4 separate regions of the Homo sapiens genome follow, and all the other regions are linked to region 4. The links are contacts of gene promoters, found by promoter capture Hi-C in human tissues and cell types (Jung and others, 2019). All regions are on one chromosome and are shown on one strand. Each heading gives the region's core, a stretch centred on a gene start or on the middle of the fragment in contact. The rest is flanking DNA. Distances are from core to core; before and after follow the strand shown. Region 1 overlaps KAT6A-AS1 (KAT6A antisense RNA 1). Region 2 has its middle 32 kb from the start of CHRNB3. Region 3 overlaps RNF170 (ring finger protein 170). Region 4 holds the start of POLB (DNA polymerase beta).

What was found. The method cuts DNA at HindIII sites, captures the fragments that hold promoters and counts their contacts. A contact is called where the count stands out against the background at its distance.
Region 1: a contact is called between a fragment that was not itself captured here and the fragment with the promoter of POLB in region 4, in 1 of the 25 tissues and cell types used here (IMR-90 fibroblasts).
Region 2: a contact is called between a fragment that was not itself captured here and the fragment with the promoter of POLB in region 4, in 2 of the 25 tissues and cell types used here (hippocampus and neural progenitor cells).
Region 3: a fragment that was not itself captured here is called in contact with the fragment with the promoter of POLB in region 4 in 1 of the 25 tissues and cell types used here (adrenal gland).

The regions. Positions count from the first base shown.
Region 1 is chr8:42,057,523-42,063,026 of GRCh38, forward strand. All of the region lies in intron 1 of KAT6A-AS1 (KAT6A antisense RNA 1), which reads left to right. Among named protein-coding and RNA genes, the nearest start is that of KAT6A, 8.3 kb to the left of the region's middle. The HindIII fragment of the contact is 3,005 bases long and covers 1,256-4,260 here.
Region 2 is chr8:42,662,426-42,668,221 of GRCh38, forward strand. No RefSeq gene overlaps it. Among named protein-coding and RNA genes, the nearest start is that of CHRNB3, 32 kb to the right of the region's middle. The HindIII fragment of the contact is 8,240 bases long and covers 1-5,796 here.
Region 3 is chr8:42,848,406-42,853,969 of GRCh38, forward strand. RNF170 (ring finger protein 170) reads right to left here. Exons shown (of 7, transcript NM_030954.4): 7 at 4,896-5,564. Among named protein-coding and RNA genes, the nearest start is that of THAP1, 7.9 kb to the left of the region's middle. The HindIII fragment of the contact is 4,868 bases long and covers 1-4,322 here.
Region 4 is chr8:42,337,030-42,342,704 of GRCh38, forward strand. It overlaps POLB (DNA polymerase beta), which reads left to right and starts at 1,465. Exons shown (of 14, transcript NM_002690.3): 1 at 1,465-1,656; 2 at 1,983-2,040. The coding sequence starts at 1,596. It also overlaps the pseudogene RPL5P23. The HindIII fragment of the contact is 25,945 bases long and covers 1-5,675 here.

The DNA.
Region 1 (5,504 bases), core at 1,508-4,007, 280 kb before region 4:
AGCCCAGCAATACTGCTGACTTGAGGAGACAAATATCAGGCTTCAGGGAGGCCGACGTAGCTAAAGTTTGGAGGACAGAGAACCAGAAAGGGGAAAGCTACATATGTATATACAACTCCAAATATCTACAGAGGGGTCCTTTTGCTTCTTTGGATGAGCATTGATTTGCACATATTTAAGAAGAGACTAATTGGAAACTAATTGGGAAAACAAACCACCAAAAAAGGGCAGGAAAAACAATTCCCAGAGCTCCCATATGAATGGAAATTGTGCCTGTTTTCACCAGCCGAATGGAAAGACCTATCTGTACATTTTGTCCTTAGTCCTCAGGAGGGTGTCATCTTGGTACTGAAAATGAATTTGCCTATATTAAAAGGAGCGTGGGAGATTTGAAGAAATAATGGCTGAAATAGTCCCAAATTTAATAAAAACTATAAACCCACAAATTCAAGGCATTCAAAGAACACGAAGCAGAATAAAAAATTGTAACCACAACAAGGCACATTATAGTAAAATTGCTGAAACCAGGCGAAAGTCTTAATATCAGCCAGAAAAAAAAGATAATACACAGGAAAGAACAAAGATAGGAATTACATTAGACTTGTTATTAGAAACTATTCAACCAAGAAAAAAAGTCTTCAGATTGCTGAAAGATTTTTAAAAATCAACCTAGAGTTCTTTACTCAGCAAAAATGTCTTTCAGAAATGGAAGAGAAAAATGTTTCAGACAAAAAAAAAAAAAAGCGGCTGGGCGCAGTGGCTCACACCTGTAATCCCAACACTTTGGGAGGCTGAGGCAGGCGGATCGCCTGAAGTCAGGGGTTCAAGACCAGCCTCTCCAACATGGTGAAACCCTGTTTCTACTAAAAATAGAAAACATTAGCCGAGCAGGATGGCGCACACCTGTAGTCCTAGCTACTTGGGAGGCTGAGGCAAGAGAACCGCTTGAACCTGGGAGGCAGAGGTTGTAGTGAGCCAAGATCACCCCGTTGCATTCCAGCCTGGGTAACAGTGTGAGATTCTGTCTCAAAAAAAAAAAAAAGAAAGAAAGAAAGAAAAAAGCAACTGGGTGCGGTGGCTCACACCTGTAATCCCAGCACGATAAGAGCCCAAGGGAGGAGGATCGCTTGAACCAGGAGTTCAAGACCAGCCTAGGCAACGTAGTGAGACCCCCATCTCTATCAAAAAAAAAAAAATTGAAAAATAGCTGGGTGTGGTGGCGCATGCCTGTAATTCCAGCTACTTGAGAGGCTGAGGTGGGAGGTTTGCTTGAGCCTAGGTCAAGGCTTCAGTGAGCCATGATTGTGCCACTGCACTCCAGCCTGAGTGACAGAGCAAGAACTTGTCTCAAAAAAAAAAAAAAAAAAAAAGGAAAAAAGAAAGGAAGGGAGGGAGGGAGGGAGGGGGAGAGGGGAGAGCAGGAAAGAATAAAGCTAAGATAGTTTATCATGAGAAAACATGAACTTCCAGAGCAAGACCTTGTCAGAAAGAAAGAGAAGAGAGAGAAAGAGAGAGAGAAAGAAAGAAAGAAAAGAAAGAAAGAGCTAAGATAGTTTATCACTAGCAAACATGAACTTCCAGAAATATTGAAGATACTTCTTCAAAAATAATGGGAAAGGATACTAGACTGAAATTTTGATTTGTAGATAAATGTTAAGAACTCTGTAATTGTGAAATGTGTGGATAAGTACAATTTTTTTATTTATAAGATTATTGTGTAAGGCAAATTAATAACAATGTATTATGGGGTTTAAAACTTATGTAATAGTAAAATGGATAATAGGGAGAATATGGAGAAATGGGAATAGTGGTTACAAAGTTTTACACTGTATGTATAGTGGCAAATTATCATTTGAAGGTAGACTGTAGTAAGCTAAAGATGCATATTGTAAACCTTGCAACAACCACTAAAAGTAATAATAAAACTAAAGTAGAGCTACTAGGCCAATCGTGGAAATAAAAGAGTCACAAAAATACTCAATTTAGAAGAAAACAGGAAAAGAAGAAAAAAAAGGAGTAAAAACCAGATTAGACAAATAGAAAACTATAGCAAGATGATACACTTAAACTCAACTATATTGATAATTGTATTAAATATAAGTGGTCTAAACATCAAACTAAGAGGCAGAGATTATCAGATTGTATATAAAAGCAAGAGCAAAATATGTGCTGTTTGTAGGAACACATTTTAGATAAACACAAATATGTTAAATGCAAAAGAATGAAAAATACATGCCAGGCAAACACGAACCAAAAGAATGATGGAGTGACAGTATTACTATCAAACAGACAGATTTCAGAACAGGGAATATTACCAGGAATAAAGATTAATATTTCAGAATGATAAGAGAGTCAATTTATCAAATAGACACAATAATCCAAAATGCTTATGGAACAAATAACAGGCCTACAAAATGCTGAATCAAAAACTGAGAGCCACCAGGGCACGGTGGCTCACGCCTGTAATCCCAGCACTTTGGGAGGCCAAGGTGGGCTGATCACGAGGTCAGGTGTTTGAGACCAACCTGACCAACATGGTGAAACCCCATCTCTACTAAAAATACAAAAATTAGCCAGGCGTGGTGGTGCATGCCTATAATCCCAGCTACTCAGGAGGCTGAGGCAGGAGAATCGCTTGAACCCAGGAGGCAGAGGTTGCAGTAAGCCGAGATTGCACTACTGCACTCAAGCCTGGGTGACAGAGGGAGACTCTGTCTCAATAAATAAATAAATAAATAAATAAATAAATAAATAATAAAAATACTGAGCGCCTAAAGGAAAAATAGAGAAATCCACAATTAAAGTTTAAGATTTCAACACTATGCTAATAATTGAGGTTTTTAAGTAGAAAGAAAAGGAGTAATGCTTGAGCAATATTGTCGATTAACTTGAGCTACTTGTTTATAGGACATTGTACCCAACAGCAAAAGAATCCATGTACTCTGCCAGTGTGCAGAAAATATTCACCAAGATAGACTATGTTCTGTGTTGTAAAATAAATTTTGATAAATTTAAGAGATTAGAATTATATTAAGTGTGATTGCTGATCAAAATGAAATTAGTCTGGAAAACCAAATATTTGCAAATCAAACAACATGAGTCAAACAGAAAATGACAAGAGAAGTTAGAAAACTTCTAAAACAGATGTTCAAGAAATTTGAACAGATGTTTCATTGAATGCACATAAAAAGAAACATATCAAAACTATGGAATACAGCTAAATCTATACCTAGAGAGAAATTTAAATGGTCATATTAGAAGAGATGTCTCAAATCCATTAACTAAGCATCTACTCAAAAAAACTGGAGAAAAAAAGAACAAGCCACATAATAAGTAGAAAGGAGGAAATAATGAAGAGCACCAATCAATGAAATGGAAAGCAGAAAAGCAATAGAGAAAATCAATGAAACCAAAAGACTTCTTTGAAAAGCTTAATAAAATTGATAAAGTTCTAAGAAGATTGACTAGGAAAACAGAAAATATAAATTAACAATATGAGGAATGAAAAAACATAACTATAGACTCTAAGTGCATTAAAAAAACAAGGAATATTGTGAACAACTTTATGGCAATATGTTTAAGAACTTAGATTGAATGAAAAAAATTCCTTGGAAGACAATGTACTAAAAGTCACATAAGAATAAGTAGACGATTTGAATAATCCTGTATCTATAAGAATGACAAAATTTATAGTTAAAAGTCAGGCACAGATTATTTCACTGACAAATTCTACCAAACAGTAAATAAATAAAACGAATTTTACACAAATTCTTCTAGAAATTTGAAGAGAAGGGAATATTCCCCAATTCACTTTATGAAGTTAGCATTACTCTCATTCCAAAAGCAGACAAAGGCATTCCAAGAAAACGGATGTCCTTCATGAACATGACCAGCTGGCTTTGTCCTAGGAATGCAAGGCTGCTTTAACATTTGAAAATCAATCAATGTAATTCATCACATTGACAAACTAAAAAGGGAAACTCATATGATTATCTCGATGAAGAGAGAAGCATTTGACAAAATCCATCTATTCCTGATAAAAATATGAGCAAATTAGAAATAGGAAGGAACTTCCTCAAAATGATAAAAGAAATCTCAAAAAACCTGCAATTAACATGGTACTTAATGATGAAAGACAAATACTTTCCCTCTAAGACATGATCATAGCAAAGATATCTGTTGTCACCACTTCTCTAGTCAACATGGTACTATAGTTTCTAGGCAGAACAGTAAGGAAAGAAAATAAAAAGGCATCCAAATTGGAAAGAAAGAAAGCTATCTTTGTTCACAGATGACATGATCGAATATCTAAAATATCCTACAAACAACTGCTAGAATTAATAGGTTTATCAAGGTTGCAGGATATAAGATCAATATACGGCCAGGCATCGTGGCTCATGCCTGTAATCCCAGCACTTTGGGAGCCGGAGGCGGGCGGATCACGAGGTCAGGAGATCGAGACCATCCTGGCCAACATGATGAAACCCCGTCTCTACTAAGAGAAAAAACTAGTTGGGCGTGGTGGTGCACACCTGTAGTCCCAGCTACTTGGGAGTCTGAGGCTGGGGAATCGCTTGAACCCAGGAGGTGGAGATTGCAGTGTGCCGAGGTCACACCACTGCACTCCAGCCTCCAGCCTGGCAACAGAGTGAGACTCCGTCTCAAAACAAACAAACAAACAAACAAAAAACAAGAAGTGGGCTGGACGCGGTGGCTCACGCCTGTAATCCCAGCACTTTGGGAGGCCGAGGCGGGTGGATCATGAGGTCAGGAGATCGAGACCATCCTGGCTAACACGGTGAAACCCCATCTCTACTAAAGATACAAAAAAATTAGCCAGGAGTGGTGGTGGGCGCCTGTGGTCCCAGCTGCTCGGGAGGCTGAGGCAGGAGAATGGCATGAACCCGGGCAGCGGAGCTTGTAGTGAGCCGAGATCATGCCACTGCACTCCAGCTTGGGTGACAGAGCAAGACTCTGTCTCAAAAAAAAAAAAAACAAGAAGTGTTGGTAAGCATGTGGAAAAATTGGAGTCCTTGTGTAGTGTTGTTAAGAATATAAAATGGTGCAGCCACTGTGGAAAACAGTATAAAGCTTCCTCAAAAGTGAAAAATAGAATTACCATAAGATCTAGCAATCTCACTTCTGGATATATATACAAAAGAATTGAAAACAGGCCAGGCGCGGTGGCTCACACCTATAATCCCAGACTTTGGGAGGCCAAAGCGGGCGGATCACCTGAGGTCAGGAGTTGGAGACCAGCCTGGCCAACATGGCGAAACCCTGTCTCTACTAAAAATGCAAAAATTAGCTGGGCGTGGTGGCGCAAGCCTGTAATGCCAGCTACTTGGGAGCCTGAGGCAGGAGAATTTCTTGAACCTGGAGGGCAGAGGTTACAGTGAGCCGAGATTGCACCACTACACTCCAGCCTGGGCAACAAAGAGTGAGACTCCGTCTCAAAAAAAAAAAAATTGAAAACAGAATCTTGAAGAGATGTTTGTATACCC
Region 2 (5,796 bases), core at 2,069-4,568, 330 kb after region 4:
TGAGGCTCTGGGTAGATATGAATTTGGGAGGTTTTTCATCTTGCATTGCTATAAAGGAATATCTGAGGCTGAAAATTTATAAAGGAAAGAGGCTTGTTTGGTTCATGATTCTGTGGGCTTCACAGGAGGCATGGTGCCAGCATCTTCGTCTGGTGAGGCCTCAGGCCGCTTCTACTTACGGCTGAAGAGGAAGGGGCGCTGGCATGTGCTGACCATATGGAAAAAGGGGAGGGAGGGGCCGGGCTCTTTTCAATAACCAGTTCTTGCTAGAACTAAGAGTGAGAACTTAACTCCCACGAGAATGGCACCAAGCCCCCAAGACCAACACACCTCCCACAAGGCCCCCTCCAACACTGGGGATCAGATTTCAACATGAGATTTGGTGGGGCCTAAAAAACCATGTCAAACCATAACGGGGGAAATTATTGAACCCACTACACCCTGATTCCACATTCACTGAGCAACGTTCCCATAGTGTTTTGTAGAGCTGACTGCATTGATCTGACCCCTATCAAGTTATGTGTCTTGACACAAACTTAAAGTCTCATTCTGACTTTATACAATTGGTGTGCATTTACTAAACCTCCACAGTCATGCCTGCCTAGAACAGGTTTTTTCTGGAGTTTCTCAGATGGGAACCCATTGCGTTTATTATTCCCTTGGCAGCATTAATGACAGCTTCATGAAGACAGGTATACACTGCTAATTTTATTTACCTATGTATGTCCTCACACAGAGCACAGTGCCTGGTATAAAGTAGGTGTTCAATAATTTTGTTGAAAAAAAAATTGTAATATTTATTTATTTATTGAGACTGAATCTCACTTTATCACCCAGGCTGGAGTGCAGTGGTGCCATCTTGGCCCACTGCAGTCTCCACCTCCCGGGTTCAAGAGATTCTTGTGCCTCAGCCTCCTGAGTAGCTTGGATTACAGGAACCTGCCACCAAGCGTGGCTAATTTTTGTATTTTTAGTAGAGACAGGTTTCACTATATTGGCCAGACTGGTCTTGAACTCTTGACCTCAAGTGATCTATCTGCCCACCTTGGCCTCCCAATGTAATAGTTTATTGAGCACTGTGCTTCATAGATTACACGAATGATCAGGTTGGATTATAACAGCAGCCCCTTCAGAAAACTACTACTTTTCATATCATTTTGAAAATAGGGAAACTAAGGCTCAGAAAGGTAGAATGGCTTACCACACTCTGGAAACAGTGCTCAGTCTGAAGCCCAGGAGTGACTGCTTAGGTGAATATAAGACAATCGCTTTCAGTCTACTCAATTCTGCTCACACAGTTGATTTCTGAAACAGAAGGCTGAACTCTGACCCCTTGACCTTGGGGATGCCTCAGGGAGATGCTACCTGTGAGGCCACTGGAGACCAGGCTCTATTTCATCTCCCTGAAACAACAACTCTGCCTTCTGCAGTTGGGTTGAGGTAGAAGGAGGGACTTGGCTCTGGGGGCAGGGCTGGGACTCCAGACCAGATAGAGAACTGGCTGAGACAGGGAAGAGACGAGGGCACCTCCCCATAAGAAATGCCTATCCATGCCATATCAACTGCCATTGCCATGGCAACACCGGAAGCTATCGTCCCTTTCCATGGTAACAACCTGATGACCTGGAAGTTACCACTCTTTTTCTGGAAGTTTCTGGATAATCATCCCCTTAATTTGGATGTCATTAAAAGTGGGTATAAACGTGATGGCAGAGCTGCCTCTGAACTGCTCCTCCAGGTTCCCTGCCTCAAGGGTAGCCCTGCCTTGCAAGGAGCAGTCCCTCTGCTGCCACCGTACACTGTCACTCCAATAAAAGCTGCGTCTAACACCACCAGCTTACCCTTGAATTCCTTCTGGGGTGAAGCCAAGAACCCTCCCAGGCTAAGCCCCAGTTTTGCAGCTTGCCTGTCTGGCATCAGAGTCAGCCAGGAAAATTCTTTGTATATCCTTCCCCTTAGCGTATCTCATATATTCTCTTCTCTTTGCCTATCTTCACGAGAAAAAATACCTTTCCTCTGCATCTCTCCTTTTTTGTGTTTTTAAGTTGATATATCATAGTTGTACATATTTATGGGGTATGTGTGATGTTTTGATCCCTGCATACAATGGGTAATGATGGAATCTGCATAATTGGGATAGCCATCACCTCAAGCGTTTATCTTTTTCTTTGTTTTGGAAACATTACAAATCTAACTATTTCAAAATATATAATAAATTATTGTTAGCTATAATTTCCCTACTGCACCATTGAATACTAGAACTCATTCCTTCTAACTGTGTTTTTATACCCATGAACCAGCCTCTCTTCATCCCCCCATCTCTGGATCTTTCCACCTCCTCCACCTTGCTCCATCAATCACCTGCTTTGCTTCCATTTTTGGTTTCTTGTTTTCTTCAATCCACAGACATGCTCAAGTCTTCCCACTCTAAAAGAAATTCTTTCCTTAATCCTGCTACTTTCTCAGATGCTGCTCCTACCTCCTTTTCCTGGCAAGATCACCTTTTGCTGATGTAAGCAGAGGTGGCCCCGCTCTGCTGGGAGGCACCCTCCGTATTGAGGAAAAAGCGGTTGGGAAGATGGAGCCCAAGAGGGAATACCTATGGTCAAGAGCATTCATTTACCCGCTACCTTCTGGCTCAATCCATACATGGCTTTGACCCTGACTCATCTTTATAGTCTTCATTGGTGGGTGGGAGGAATCCCAGAAGCTGACATTGACCACACATTCACTCCATCAGTCTGGATTCTGCCCACTCCAGTTTTTGCTGCTTTCAAGACTGGTATCATATACATCAACAAGGTCTGTTGGGAGCATTTTGCTGTGTTGCTTCTCCAAGCAATTCATAGTTTGGTAGAGAAGAAACACCACACCAGAGAGTTCACTTTATTCCAAGTAATAGAGTATTCAAATTAATAATGTTTTCAATATAAGAACATTTATCATCGCAGCATTGTTCACAATAGCCAAAACATGGAATCAACCCAGGTGCCCATCAGTGGTGGATTGGACAAAGGAAATGTAGTACCTATACACCATGGAATACTACACAGCCTTTTAAAAGAGTAAAATCATATCCTTTGCAGCAACATGGATGCAGCTAGAGGCCACTATCCTAAGCAAATTAACTCAGGAACAGAAAAACCAAATACTGCATGTTCTCACTCCTAAGTGGGAGGTAAGCATTGGGTACTCATGGACATAAAGATATGAACGATAGACACTGGGGTCACCTGGAGCAGGAAGAAGGAGGGGACAAGGGCTGAAAAAATAACTATTGGGTACTATGCTCACTATCTGGGTGGTGGGATCACTCATACCCCCAAACCTCAATGTCACACAGTATACCCATGTAAGAAACGCCTGAATCTAAAATAAAAGTTGAAATAATTTTTAAAAAATATAAAAGGATTTATTGTTTACTTAACAATGAGTCTAGGCTGCTTAGAGCTTGTTTAGTAGCTCAGCAATGGCATCAAGGATCAGGTGACTTCAAACACCCTGAGTGTGTTGACATCTCGTCCTCATGCTTGCTGACTCCTGGTCACAGAGTGGCTGCAGCTGTTCCAAGCACCACAGCCTCACACTGCACCCACAGCAGGAAGCAGCAAGGAAGGATGTGGGCAGAAAAGGGCTTTCTTTTTAGCAGACAGGAAAAACATCTTCGCAGAAGGTCCCCCATAGTTTCATTGGCCAGAACTCAGACATGGCCCTGAGTCTCAGTTTCACTTTTTTCTCTGGCCTCCCAAACAAGAGCATTTCTCTGAATTCTTCAGTCAAACTTAAGAGGTCTTCTGTGTGTCCTCTCCGCCTCATGTCTACCCCCATCACAAAACCTAATGCTTTTCATAGCACCAGATGCCTTCCATTTATTCTTTTTTTTTGTAGAAGGAGTCTCGCTCTGTCGCCCAGGCTGGAGTGCAGTGGCACGATCTCGGCTCACTGAAACCTCTGCTTCCCAGGTTCAAGCGATTCTTCTGCATCAGCCTCCCGAGTATCTGGGACTACAGGCACGCCCAGCTAATGTTTTGTATTTTTAGTAGAGATGGGGTTTCACCATGTTAGCCAGGATGGTCTCGATTTCCTGACCTCATGATCCGCCCGCCTCAGCCTCCCAAAATGCTGGGATTACAGGCTTGAGCCACCACGCCTGGCACACCTAATGCCTTTCTTCCTCAATAAATGCCACCTTTTCATCTTTTTATCTCCCTGGTTCTTGTAGCTTATAGGCACTTACACATGCATTTCTGAATGAATGAGTAAGAAAGGAAGGGAGGAGGGGAAAGACTCTATCCCAAGTGCTCCTCTTTTTCTTTTTCTTCTGTTTCTGTTCTGCCGGGGACATTATCTGTTTTCACAGCTTCAGCCCTGACATGCCTTCCAGTCTGAAGTCTTGCGTTTTTGACTCCTGCTGGAGTTGGGAAGCTCAAATTCAACACATGTAAAATGGAACTTATCATCTTCCATCAAAAATAAAGCTTCTGAAATGGAAATAATATTTTTGGAAATATGTCAGTTGCTTTTCTCTATTGCAGTCCCGTGTTTGATTTCTGGCCGTTCCTCTGCCTCTGGGAGGGTTAGGATTGTTGCAGAAGGAATGCAAGGAGGAGGAGGAGAATGTTCAGCTTTGGATACGCAGAGTAGGTTTTCAATAACAATCGCTTATCATGGAAAATTCCAAATATATCCAAAAATAGACAGAAGGGTACAATGATTTCTCATGTACTCACCACCCAGCTTCACTAGTTATCAAGCCATGATGAATTCATCCATATAACTCACCTACTACTACTATAAAGAAATCATTTAATATCCAACCTGTGTTCAAATTTTCCTTATTTCCTTATTGTTTTACAATTTGTTTGAATCGTGATCCAATTAAGATTTTTTTTAATTTTTTTTTTTTAATGGAGTCTCCCTCTGTTACCCAGGCTGGAGTGCAGTGGTGCAATCTCAGCTCACTGCAACATCCACCTCCCGGGTTCAAGCAATTCTCCTGCCTCAGCCTCTGAAGTAGCTGGGATTACAGGTATGCACCACCAGGCCTGGCTAATTTTTGTATTTTTAGTTGAGATGGGGTTTCACCATGTTGGTCAGGCTGGTCTTGAACTCCTGACCTCAGGTGATTCCCCCACCTCGGCCTCCCAAAATGCTGGGATTACAGGCAAGAGCCACTGAGCTTGGCTAATCTGATTAAGAGCTATACGTTGAAATTTGTTGATATGTTTCCTGTTTTTCAAAAAACTATTGGTTCCCTTTTATTACTCTTTTTCCTTGCAATTGATTGTTGAAGAAACCTGGAGTTTCTCACAGGCTGGTTTTTGCAGATCACGCCCCTAAGGGGTGGTTTACGTATCACTCTGTCCACTGTATTTTCTGTTAGTTGGTGGTTAAATTTAGAGCTGTTCAGATTCAGGTTTGAAGTTTTTGGCAAAGAGGCACATAATGTTTGGTGATGTTAGCAGCTGTTTGTGACCATTGCCTAGAACGATAAAGTAGACGTTGCAAATTTATGATATTTTATTATTCCTTCTTCATTTATTAGATAGCCTACTTCTTTTTTGTTTTTTCTTTTTTTGAGATGGAGTCTTGCTCTGTCACCCAAGCTGGAGTGCAGTGGCACGATCTCTGCTCACTGCAACCTCCGCCTCCCGGGTTCAAGCGATTCTCCTGCCTCAGCTTCCTGAGTAGCTGAGATTATAGGTGCGCGCCACCACACCCAGCTAATTTTTGTATTTTTAGTAGAGATGAGGTTTCACTGTGTTGGTCAGGCTGGTCTCGAACTGCTGACCTTGT
Region 3 (5,564 bases), core at 639-3,138, 510 kb after region 4:
ATCTCTGCTCACTGCAACCCCCACCTCCCAGGTTAAAGCGATTCTCCTGCCTCAGCCACCCATGTAGCTGGGATTATAGGCGCGCACCACCACACCCAGCTAATTTTTATATTTTTAGTAGAGACTGGGTTTCACCATGTAGGCCAGGCTGGTCTCGAACTCCTGACCTGAAGTGATCCTCCCACTTTGGCTTCCCAAAGTGCTGGGATTACAGGTGTGAGCCATGGCACCCAGCCCATTTAAACTTTCTCCATATCAGCATTAAGGCTGCTTAGCTTTTTTATTATTCGTGTGTTCACTGGAATAGCACTTCTAATTTCCTTCAAGAATTTTTCCTTTATGCCAGGCACGTTTGCTCACACCTGTAATCCCAGCACTTTGGGAGGCTGAGGTGGGCGGATCACGAGGTCAGGAGATCGAGACCATCCTGGCTAACACAGTGCAACCCCATCTCTACTAAAAATACAAAAAAAAAAAAAAAAAACCCAAAAAATTAGCTGGGCATGGTGGTGGGCACCTGTAGTTCCAGCTACTCAGGAGGCTGAGGCAGGAGAATGGCATGAACCCGGGAGGCGGAGGTTGCAGTGAGCCAAGATAGCGCCACTGCACTCCAGCCTGGGCGACAGAGTGAGACTCTGTCTCAAAAAAAAAATTTTTTTTCCTTTACATTCACAACTTGGCTGTTTGGCACAAGAGGCCTAGCTCTCAGCCTGTCGTGCCTTTCAACATGCCTTCCTCACTACACTTGATCATTTCTACCTTATGATTGAAAGTAAGAATCTTAGCAAGGACTTAGTGGGCATTGGTATGGTTACTAATTGGCCTAATTTCAATGTTGTTGTGTCTCAGGCAATAGGGAGGCCCAAGGAGAGCGAGAGAGACTAGGGAATGGCCAGTCAGTGGTGAGTGAGAACACATACAACTTGTATCAATTAAGCTCACCATAAGTGGGTGCGGTTTGTAGCACTCCAAAACAAAGATCAGTAGTAACATTAAAGATCACTGATCACGGATCACCATAACAGCTATAATAATAATGAGAAAGTTTGCAATATTGCGAGAATTACCAAAATGTGACAGAGACATGACTTGAGTACGTGCTGCTGGAAAAATGGTGCCAATGGACTTGCTCGAAGCCGCGATGCCACAAACATTCAATTTGTAAAAAGTACAATATCTGCAAAAATCAATAAAGCAAATTACAATAAAATGAGGTCTGCCATTACCAAAATGCCAGAATAGTAGTTTATTAGCATTACCATGGATATTGAGACTGCTGGGAATATCTCTGAGGTCCTCTGTGCCTGTGTCTGATAAAGGTCAGAATGGATAACATTGTGAACTGAGAAAGTGTATTTCAACTTAGAGTTCCCTGATATTGTTTTCTCATTCATTGATTCAACAAATAGTTACTGACTATGCTGCACGCATAGTTCTGGGGGCTTGGGATATGTCAGTGAAGGAGATTTCTGCCCTCAGGGAGCTAATGTTCTCAAAGACATTAGGGAGGCAGATAGCAAACACGTGACCACAGAGTATGTTAGCCGGTGAGAGGTGCTCTGTGGGCTGAGGGAGTTGCAAGTTTCCTTATGGTGGACAGGACAGGCCTAACAGAGGAAATGGCTATTGTGCGAAGATCTGGAGTTGGTGAGAGTTGGCTGTGAGGATGCCCGGCGGAGGAGCCTAGCAGTCAGAGGGACTGGCCAGGGCAGAGCTCCTGAGGCTGGGCGTCTTCAGCCTGCTCAAAGGACAGCAAGGAGGGCTGGATGGCTGGAGCAGAGTGAGCTGTGGGGACAAATGTGAGATGAGGTTAGAGAGGAAATGAGCAACCAAGGTCACATGGGGCCTTGCAGGCTGGCGTGAGGACTTTACCTTTACTCTGTGGGAAAGGGAGAGCAGGCTTTCCAGCAGAGTCACACTTGAGATGATCATCGGGCTGCGTTGCATGTAGGGAGCCAGGCACTTGGTGCCTGGGAGACTGCCTGGAAGGTCGCTGTGATCCTTTAGGTGAGAAGTGAGGGTGGCTTAGACCTGGGCGGCAGCCATGACTGAGTAAGAAGTGATCTTTCCTTGTCTTCTGCCCTTTCCTGTCTTTCCCTTGCTTTATTTATTAATCTTTAATGTGTTGAGCACTACTGTGGTGGCAGGCATAATGGTACATCTGTGAATATCTGGGTGGACAAAACTAACATTGTCTCTGTTTTCATAGAGCTTGTGTTCTAGTGAGAAGCAGACAGACAATGGAAATGTCAATATGATGATGCTGTGCTGAGATGTCTGAATGCCTCAGAGTGCCCTGGGGTAAGGGGAGGGGAGGGTCACTGCCTACTTTTGCACTACTTTTGCACTGCCTACTTTTGGGTAGTCTGAGTGAGGAGGGAACATTTAACCTGAGAACCAAAGGATGGAAACACAGTCTAGTAACGTGAAGCATAAACGTGGTGAGGCTGAAGGGAGCATTCGGTCATGGGGTATATGCTGAGGCCCTGACCTGCATCCGACTGTACAGGCAGGAGAGTTCTGTGTGTCCAGGCATGCAACAGCCTCTTGATGGGTCTGCTCACTTGCACGGCTGCTCTTCTCTGATGAACCCTACACACGGTAGTCAGAATGACCTTTTAAAAATGTTTGTTAGATCATGTCTTCCCACTGCACGTAAATCCAAATCAACAGCCTTCCTGCTTCTTCAACCTCACTTCATGCCCTCCTTCCAGCTCCCTGGGCTCTACCACCACAGCCCCCATTGGGCTCCTGGACACACAGAACTCTCCTTGGACTGCGGTGGTGGCAGAGGGTATAGAGTGATAGGATTCGACATGTCAATGGTAGAAATGCCAGGGCTTGTTGATAGATGGTTATAAGAGTAAGAGAGGAGGCTGGGTGCAGTGGCTCACACCTGTAATCTCAGCAATTTGGGAGGCCGGGACTGGCGGATTACCTGAGATCAGGAGTTCCAGACCAGCCTGGCCAGGGTTTAGTAGAAACCCTGTCTCTACTAAAAATAGAAAAATTAGTTGGGTGTGGTGGTGGGCATCTGTAGTCCCAGCTACTCGGGAGACTGAGGCAGGAGAATCGCTTGAGCCCAGGAAGCGGAGGTTGCAGTGAGCCGAGATTGTGCCATTGCACTCCAGCCTGGGTGACAGAGTGAGACTCCGTCTCAAAAAAAAAAAAAAAAGAAAGAAAAAGAAAGAACAAGAGAAGGATTCAGATATTAACACCGAATTAAGCTTGCACCTCTGGCTTGAGCATTTTGAGATGGGATCTCCTGTCACTCAGGCTGGACTGCAGTGGTGCAACCCACAAGGCTCACCACAGCCTTCACTTCTGGGCCCAAGTGATCCTCCCACTTCAGCTCTGGAGTAGCTAGGACCACAGGCATGCACCACCACGTCTGGCTAATTTTATTTGTAGAGACGGGGGTCTCACTATGTTGCTCAGACTGGTCTCAAACTCCTGGACTCAAGTGATCCTCCTGCCTCGGACTCCCAAAGTGCTGGGATGATAGGTGTGAGCCACCACACTGTCCTCGCTTGAGCATTTAAATGGATGGATGGTGGTTCCTTTTACTGAGAGTCAAACGGCCTTTAATAAAAAGAAGGGAGCTATTTCTGCCAGCAAAGTAAAGGCCTTGGCAGGGGAGAAGTGGTTTAGGAAAACTAGGTTGTCACCTGGGAGGTGCAGGAATATCAGAAGAGAATGAACGTTTAAGACAGTTCAGAGAAGCTGGGGGCACAAGCCACTCAAGCAGCACCCAAGGATCACCTGCCAGCAGGGTGCCCTCTTGGTGTCTATGATCATTAATCCATCTAGAATGAAACTGGTCAATGTGGTGTCCCTCAGCCAAGTTCTCTTCCTTGTTCCCTTTTCTTGTTTCCTGTCTTCCAGTGATCCATAACTTGGAAATGAAATATATACTTTTATTACCTGTTGAATATAATCCTTATATTTCCTTATTTCAAAGTGGTAAACTTATCATTGGTATGGTGAATTACATATAATTTATTTATTCATTTATTTTTTTTTAATTTTTGAGATGGAGTCTCACTCTGTCACCCAGGCTGGAGTGCAATGGCATGATCTCAGCTCACTGCAACCTCTGCCTTCCAGGTTCAAGCGATTCTCCTGTCTCAGCCTCCCAAGTAGCTGGGACTACAGGTGCGTGCCACCACACCTGGCTAATTTTTGTATTTTAGTAGAGACGGGGTTTCACTATGTTGGCCAGGCTGGTCTCAAACTCCTGACCTTGTGATCTGCCCGCCTTGGCCTCCCAAAATGCTGGGATTACAGGTGTGAGCCACTGCGTCCAGCAGAATTTCATATAATTTAAAACAAAATTTGTTGCATTGAACTGAATGTTGAATTTTTCTTTGTAAAACATCTCCGTGACTAAATTTTCACTGTGGTCTGCAAATTAATTTATTTGCTTAATAGAAAAATAATTTTCAGCACTGGGCATGGTGGTTCACACCTGTAATCCCAGCACTTTGGAAGGCTGAGCCTGGGAGTTTTAGACCAGCCTGGGCAACACAGCCAGACCATGTATCTACAAACTTTTTTTTTTTTTTTTTTAATTAGCCAGGTGTGATGGCACACATCTATAGTCCCAGCTACTTGGGAGGCTGAGACAGGAGGATCACTGGAGCCCAGGAATTCGAGGCTGCAGTCAGCTATGATTGTAACACTGCACTCCAACCTGGGCAAGAGTGAGACCCTGTCTCTGACCAAAAAACAAACACACAAACAAAATAAAAAACCTAACAAAATTAATTAGAAATGTGATGAGATATTGGATGTCCATTAGTGATAAAGCCGTTGCAACCATTATACTGAATGCTCTTTCAGGAGTTCTGAAAGCAAACAACTGTTAAATAAACAGAAAAATAACACCTTTAAAATGTTTTAGATATGTTGCTTTTATTCAAAAGAATAAAATGCTTGACAAACTCTTTAATCACAAGGTTTGAACCAAACCACCAGTCTTCTACAACAACTCTGTGAGGTAGGTATCTGCATAGCCACAAGGGATCCACATAGTCCTTTCTTCCCTTGTACCTCTCAAACACTGAGAATTGTAGTAGTTGAAACCACTGTTCTAGTGGGCAGTTAGAACAGTTGTTTTCCCCGTCTTGTTCCCCACAGAGCTGCCCAAGTTATTATCTGCTCCTGGGGTTGGACCATCTGTTTTATGACAGTTATGATATTGTTGTTTAAAAAAAATCCAAATTGTTACTTTGATTTATATGATCTAACTCTGAATCACGGAAGTATTACTATGATGTTCAAAACTCTGATTGACTCTACTTGCTTTAAAAACTCTCAGATCCCTTCTGCATTTATCATCAGAGATCGGTAAAGATGACAACAAGCAGGTCTAAAGTTCTGAGATGTTAGCACATACCCTTTTCACAATTTAGGAAGCTTTAAGATCATTTAGTATTTTTTTATGTTACAAAATTTGGTACAATACACCTCTTTCAGGAAAGTCTTAGTAGTAACTCCAAATATTATAATTATTGTAACCAGAATTGTGACACTTGGAGCAGAATGCATGCACACAAAATAAA
Region 4 (5,675 bases), core at 215-2,714:
AATACATTTTTATTTAAGGAGGAATAATTCTTCAGAGCAAAATAATCTGAATATCACCTGGAATAGAGATTGGACAGAAAAAAGTGTGAACAGGGAAAACTAGGACAAGTCATATATGTAAATGAGAGTATAAAGAGTAAATGAGAGTGGTCACTGCTCACTGCAGCTTAACTAATCAGATAGTTAAGTTGCAGGCATAAAGTTTTTTTAACTTTTATTCCTCAAGTAATAAATTGAGGAAAATACAAATATGTACAAAATTTTTACAAAAGCTATCCATAAAAGGGCAAGTAGTAATATATAGAAAAGATCTACCAGATTAGTAACAAACTACCCCCATTAGGAAAATGGTAAATGATATGAATAGGAAATTCAAAAAAAGAAGAATTACAGATTTCCAATAAGCATAACTTAAGATATACACTGATATTGTAAGGAAACACAATCACCACAACCTTGCTAATCAAAGAAACTAATGATATTTATTGGAAAATAATGGGAATTTTTAATAGACTGGGTTAGAAGACTAGAAGTGTACGTCCCAAAATATTAATAGTTCAGCTGTAGGGTGAGATCACTGATTTTAATTTTCTCCTTTTATACATTTTTCCAGATTTCTCTACAGCAACTACGTATCATTTTGTAATAAATTTTAATTTTTCGATGCACAAAGCAATTGCCTGGAATTGCAGTTCGATATGAACCCAGGAGTTACGCTTGTAAAATAAACTATTGCTGATGTGACATTTCCATTTCTCAAGCAGACTGTAAATTTCTCAGATGTAGGTCATCATGTTATAATTAGGGTTCCATTGCTCATGATCTAGATGAAACACTTCTCCCTTTCTTGTGGTCTCTTCATTAATTTGGTCCCTACCGCAAAGGCAGGGGGATTAAAAATAAAATATCTTTTGACACTGGTTGGCAGGTGTACTAACACGTGTGCGGGAGGATTCCTGTTCTCGGCATGGTTCACGCCGGGCTCCGGCAGCGCCCTAGTACGTAAGGGGCTGCACTGGAGTGTGGACTGCCCGGTATCCTTAGAGAAAGTTTTGACAGTGTGACGCCAGTGTCGCCTCTAACCACGTACAAAACGCGCCATGCATTGGGTAGCTATTACAGTGCACATTTTTGTGCAGGAAGCTACCCCACCAGCGCAAGTATTTCAGAATCAAGATCGCACTCCCGTTTCCCCTTCTAGGGAAAGGATTCCAGATAAACACTGAGAAAACAGATTTAATATCTTAGGTCAAAACTCCAGGTCTTCCCATAGGAAGGCCCCTGGGCTGTCATTCTGAGGTGCCTATTTCCCCCGCGCCGTGTCCACGTCCACGAGTCCACGAACCCTCCGAGTTCTCTCTCCTCACCTGCCGAGGGCTCGCCCCTCTAGCCCCGCCCCGCCCCGCCCAGGACGCGTGACGTCACAACAAGCGCCGTGCGCCCCGCCCCCCATCGGGGGCAACCATTGTTCCGCCGGTCGCGCCGGAGCTGGGTTGCTCCTGCTCCCGTCTCCAAGTCCTGGTACCTCCTTCAAGCTGGGAGAGGGCTCTAGTCCCTGGTTCTGAACACTCTGGGGTTCTCGGGTGCAGGCCGCCATGAGCAAACGGAAGGCGCCGCAGGAGACTCTCAACGGGGGAATCACCGACATGCTCACAGGTTAGCACCGGGCCGGGCCCCGCTGGCTTTCTTCTTTCCTTCCAGCCTCTTCCCCTGCCTTCCTTCTCTCCCACACCGACAGTCCAGTGGGTAGGGTAGGTTCCTTGCAGCGGGTCGTCTTCCGTGGGGATCTCCCTCCGGCGCCCCTGGCTGGTTGTCAGTCCTGCCGGCTACACCTGGGCCATCGCTTGGGCTGCTTTTGGTCTGGCCCTTGGAGGAAACGGGTGGTCACTGTCTCTTAGAGGCTGCCATATCCCCTTCCAGAAAACAGTTCTCGTTTGTTTACTCGTGGTTCTTGTTCACCCGAGCCTTCTGTTGCCTTTCAGAACTCGCAAACTTTGAGAAGAACGTGAGCCAAGCTATCCACAAGTACAATGCTTACAGGTGGGACAGTGCAGCATTCTCGGGTAGCATACGTTCTGGGATACCCTGTTTAGTGTGGCAATTAACAGGACTGAGGGCCCAGTGGATATTTGGTCCATCTGCAAGAGCGGGAAAAAGCAAGAATCGAGGCTGGTACCTTACTATTTCTTGAAGAATGTGGGCAGTGCGTTATAGGATCAGTTCAGATAAGTTCCCAATTCTGATTGCAGATAGCTGTAGCCTGATACGTATTTTGTCATCATCAAACATGAATTACTAGAAATGCGGTGTAATTTTAACCGTAATGAAAGACAGCGGATGAAGTCCATACTGTGAAATATATGTGGTTCAAGGAATCACATTTTTTCTTTTGGTTGGTCTAAAGTTGATCCTGTGGGATCCTGATCCTGATCCTTGTTCCTTGTTCATGGGATCCTGTCCTTGTTCATCTCACCAGGGGCCTTATCCTATTCATTCTTTCCACATCCACCTGCTTCTACTCCTTAGCCTATATTTATTTATTTATTTATTTTTATTTGAGACGGGGTCTCGCTGTGGTATGATCATGGCTCATTGCAGCTTCAACCTTCCAGCCTCAAGTGATCTTCCCATCTCAGCCTCCTGAGTGGCTGGGACTACTACAGGCGCACGCCACCACACCCAGCTAATTTTTTTTTCTTTCTTTTTTTTTCTTTTTTTTTTTGTAGAGACCGGGTTTTGCTATGTTGCCCAGGCTGATCTCCAACTCCTAAACTCAAATGGTCCACACACCTTGGTCTCCCAGAGTGCTGGGATTCCAGGCATCAGCCTCGGTGTCAGCTCTCCTTAGCCTATAAATATGTGCAAGTCCCTCAGCTCTTAAAAGCAAAACCAAAACAATCTTAACTTCCCTCTAGCTAGCACCTTCCCTCTTTTCTCACTTTATGGTGAATCTTCTTGAAAAATCTTCATTCCTTGCCTGGACTTCTTAATACCTAATCATTTACTCAAGAAGTCCCAGTCCTTGCCTGGACCTACCAGTGCTCTGAAAATCCGCTCACCTACGTCTCATCTTATTGGACTCTCTGTGGCATTCACCCCTGGCTCATGCTGTGAATATCTCTTGACTTCTGTAATGGCACTCTTTCTGGTCTTTCATCTCTTCTTCTGTCTTACCTTTTAATGTTGGTATAGGTTGAGCATCCCTAATCTGAAAATTTGAAATGCTCTAAAATCTGGATGATTGCCGACATGATGACACAAGTGGAAAATTCCACATCCGATCTCATGTAGTAGGTGGCAGTCAAAATGGTCAAAACTTTGTTTCATGCACAAAATTATTAAAACGACTATATAAGATTACCTTCAGGGTATGTGCGTAAGGTGTGTGAGAAATATGACTGAATTTTGTATTTAGACTTGTATCTCCCATATCCCTAAGATATCTTATTATGTATACGCAAATATTCCAAACCCTGAAAAAAATTCAAAATCTGAAACAATGCTGGTCCCAGGCATTTCAGATAAGGGATAGTTAACCTGTGGTTCCGGGGAGTCTGCCTGCCCTTAGCCCTCTTTTCTTACTTCTGTAGTTTCCCTGGCAATCTTGCCATTCTTGACTTTGAAATGCCACTTATGTCAGTGACTCCAAATCTGTGTATCACTGGACTTTTTTCCACATTTTTAGCCCTATACTGTCTTTATCCCAAGTCAGCTCCCTTCTTCCATTCCCACTCCACACAGTTCAGAGCTGATTGTGCTCCCTCCTTTCCTTACTTCTGTGACTTCCTCTGTAAAGTAAAATAATTGTATTATCATCCATACATTTGATGATTCAAAATTACAGAGATATTCAACTTTGTATTCTATTTGGATCACAGCAGGTCTCAGAAAGGAGGTGTTTAGTTTGAAGAAGCTCATCGGGATAAGTGAGAGGGCCAGCAGTCTAGACAAATAAAATGTGCCAAAGCATTGAGACATGAAGGGTATAACGTTTTCTGGAAGTCAGATGTTCAGTTTGCTTAACGGGTATGGTATGAGTGGGAAATAAGTCTGGAAAAGCAGGTGATTCCCTACCACTCCTGCATGCTCCTCCCTACCCCAGTAGACATTTCTGTTGATTGTGGCCAAAGTATTCTTTTGAAAATAGTTATCTGATCTTGTCAGTCAAATAATTAAATAATATTTTCTCTTTACCTTGATAAAACCCAAATACATCATAGCATACAAAAGGCCTTTCATCTGATTCTTCTTCCCTTTTAGGCTTTGCCTCACAGTGCCAATGACCTGGAACTACTTGCCTTTCCTGAAATGATCCCCTCCATAAACTGTGTTTGCCTGCTCCTTTACTTATAAATATGTCTTTTCAGATTCATCATCAGTCATGTGCTTAGAGAGAAGTTCAAATCCAAATATAAAGGGTTATTTGTGCTATAACAGAATGCAAATCCAAGGTTCCAAAGACTATCCAGTGTTTATGCTTTTGACTTAGCTGTACTGTCACTTCTCATCAGCATCAACTCTGAATTACATTTTGCATTGAAATTATAGACAGAATACCGTCAGCGAGCTCCCAGGGTGTATCCAATCTGTCACCAGATTAACAAACTGGATATGTGTGGAGGTGGGCAAGAATTACAGGTCACCGCTTTATGCTGAACTGCAGTGGGAACAATTTTTTTTTTCTGTCCATAAGTTTATTGTCTTTATCTGAAAAATCCTCGTAGAAAATTGTTTGGTTTAGCTCTCTGCAGCCCCCTCCTGAGCCGTGGGGAAGCTTGCCTTCTTTTGAGCTATGCGATCTTTCTTCTGAGCAAGGGACATTTTGGGATGGTTCCACCTCTTTTTAACTTCTTTCTTGAGCTTCTTTTCATAGACTGGATTCTCTCCTATAGCAGCATGAGCTTTCATCTCCTTCATCATGTCTGAAGTTATGCTATTCTTTATGTATTGAGAGAACTGTTTCTTGTAAGCATCTTTATCTTCCATTAAGTAGTGCATGTAATCTGCAACATTCTGGCCTATGTTGTGCTTCTGGTGTAATTCTGCATTGAATTCCTTGCTTTCAGAATCATAACCAGGGAATCATTTGGTACTTTGAGGGATAGACAAGCCTCCATCCAGGTCACCAAAAACTTTATTGCCAGTGGTAGTTCTGGCAAGGCCTGCATCCAAATAGCAGGTGAAAGCACCTGGCTGACCATCAATGCTTTCTACATTGTATTATCGCCAGTCACCTCCACTTGGCCTTCATAGATCTTGTCCATGCCAAACCTATTGAGAAGCCTGTGGGCCAGCAGCAGGCCAGTACAATATGTTGCAGCATAATTTGTCAGGCCAACCTTCACACCATATTTTGGCAGTTCGTGTGCATATGCTGCGCAGACTATCATATCCCCCTCTATACGGGCATAAGCAATCTGACAATTGATATCTCTGTTTGTTATATGAACTATCATCCTCTATTTGGGTGTGTTGTATTTATTTTTATCCTGTATTACCAAGCGTTTCTGAGCATAGTAATCAGTTTTACCATCTTGTCATCTTTAAGTTTCATTTGGTATCTCTTAAAGTAGGCCTTATTCTTAACAACTTTAACAAAGTCCATCCTGTGGAACAGAGACCTGCAGGCCCAGCAGCACTAGGGGGTGGAAAGGCGGGAGCAATTTTTAAAAACT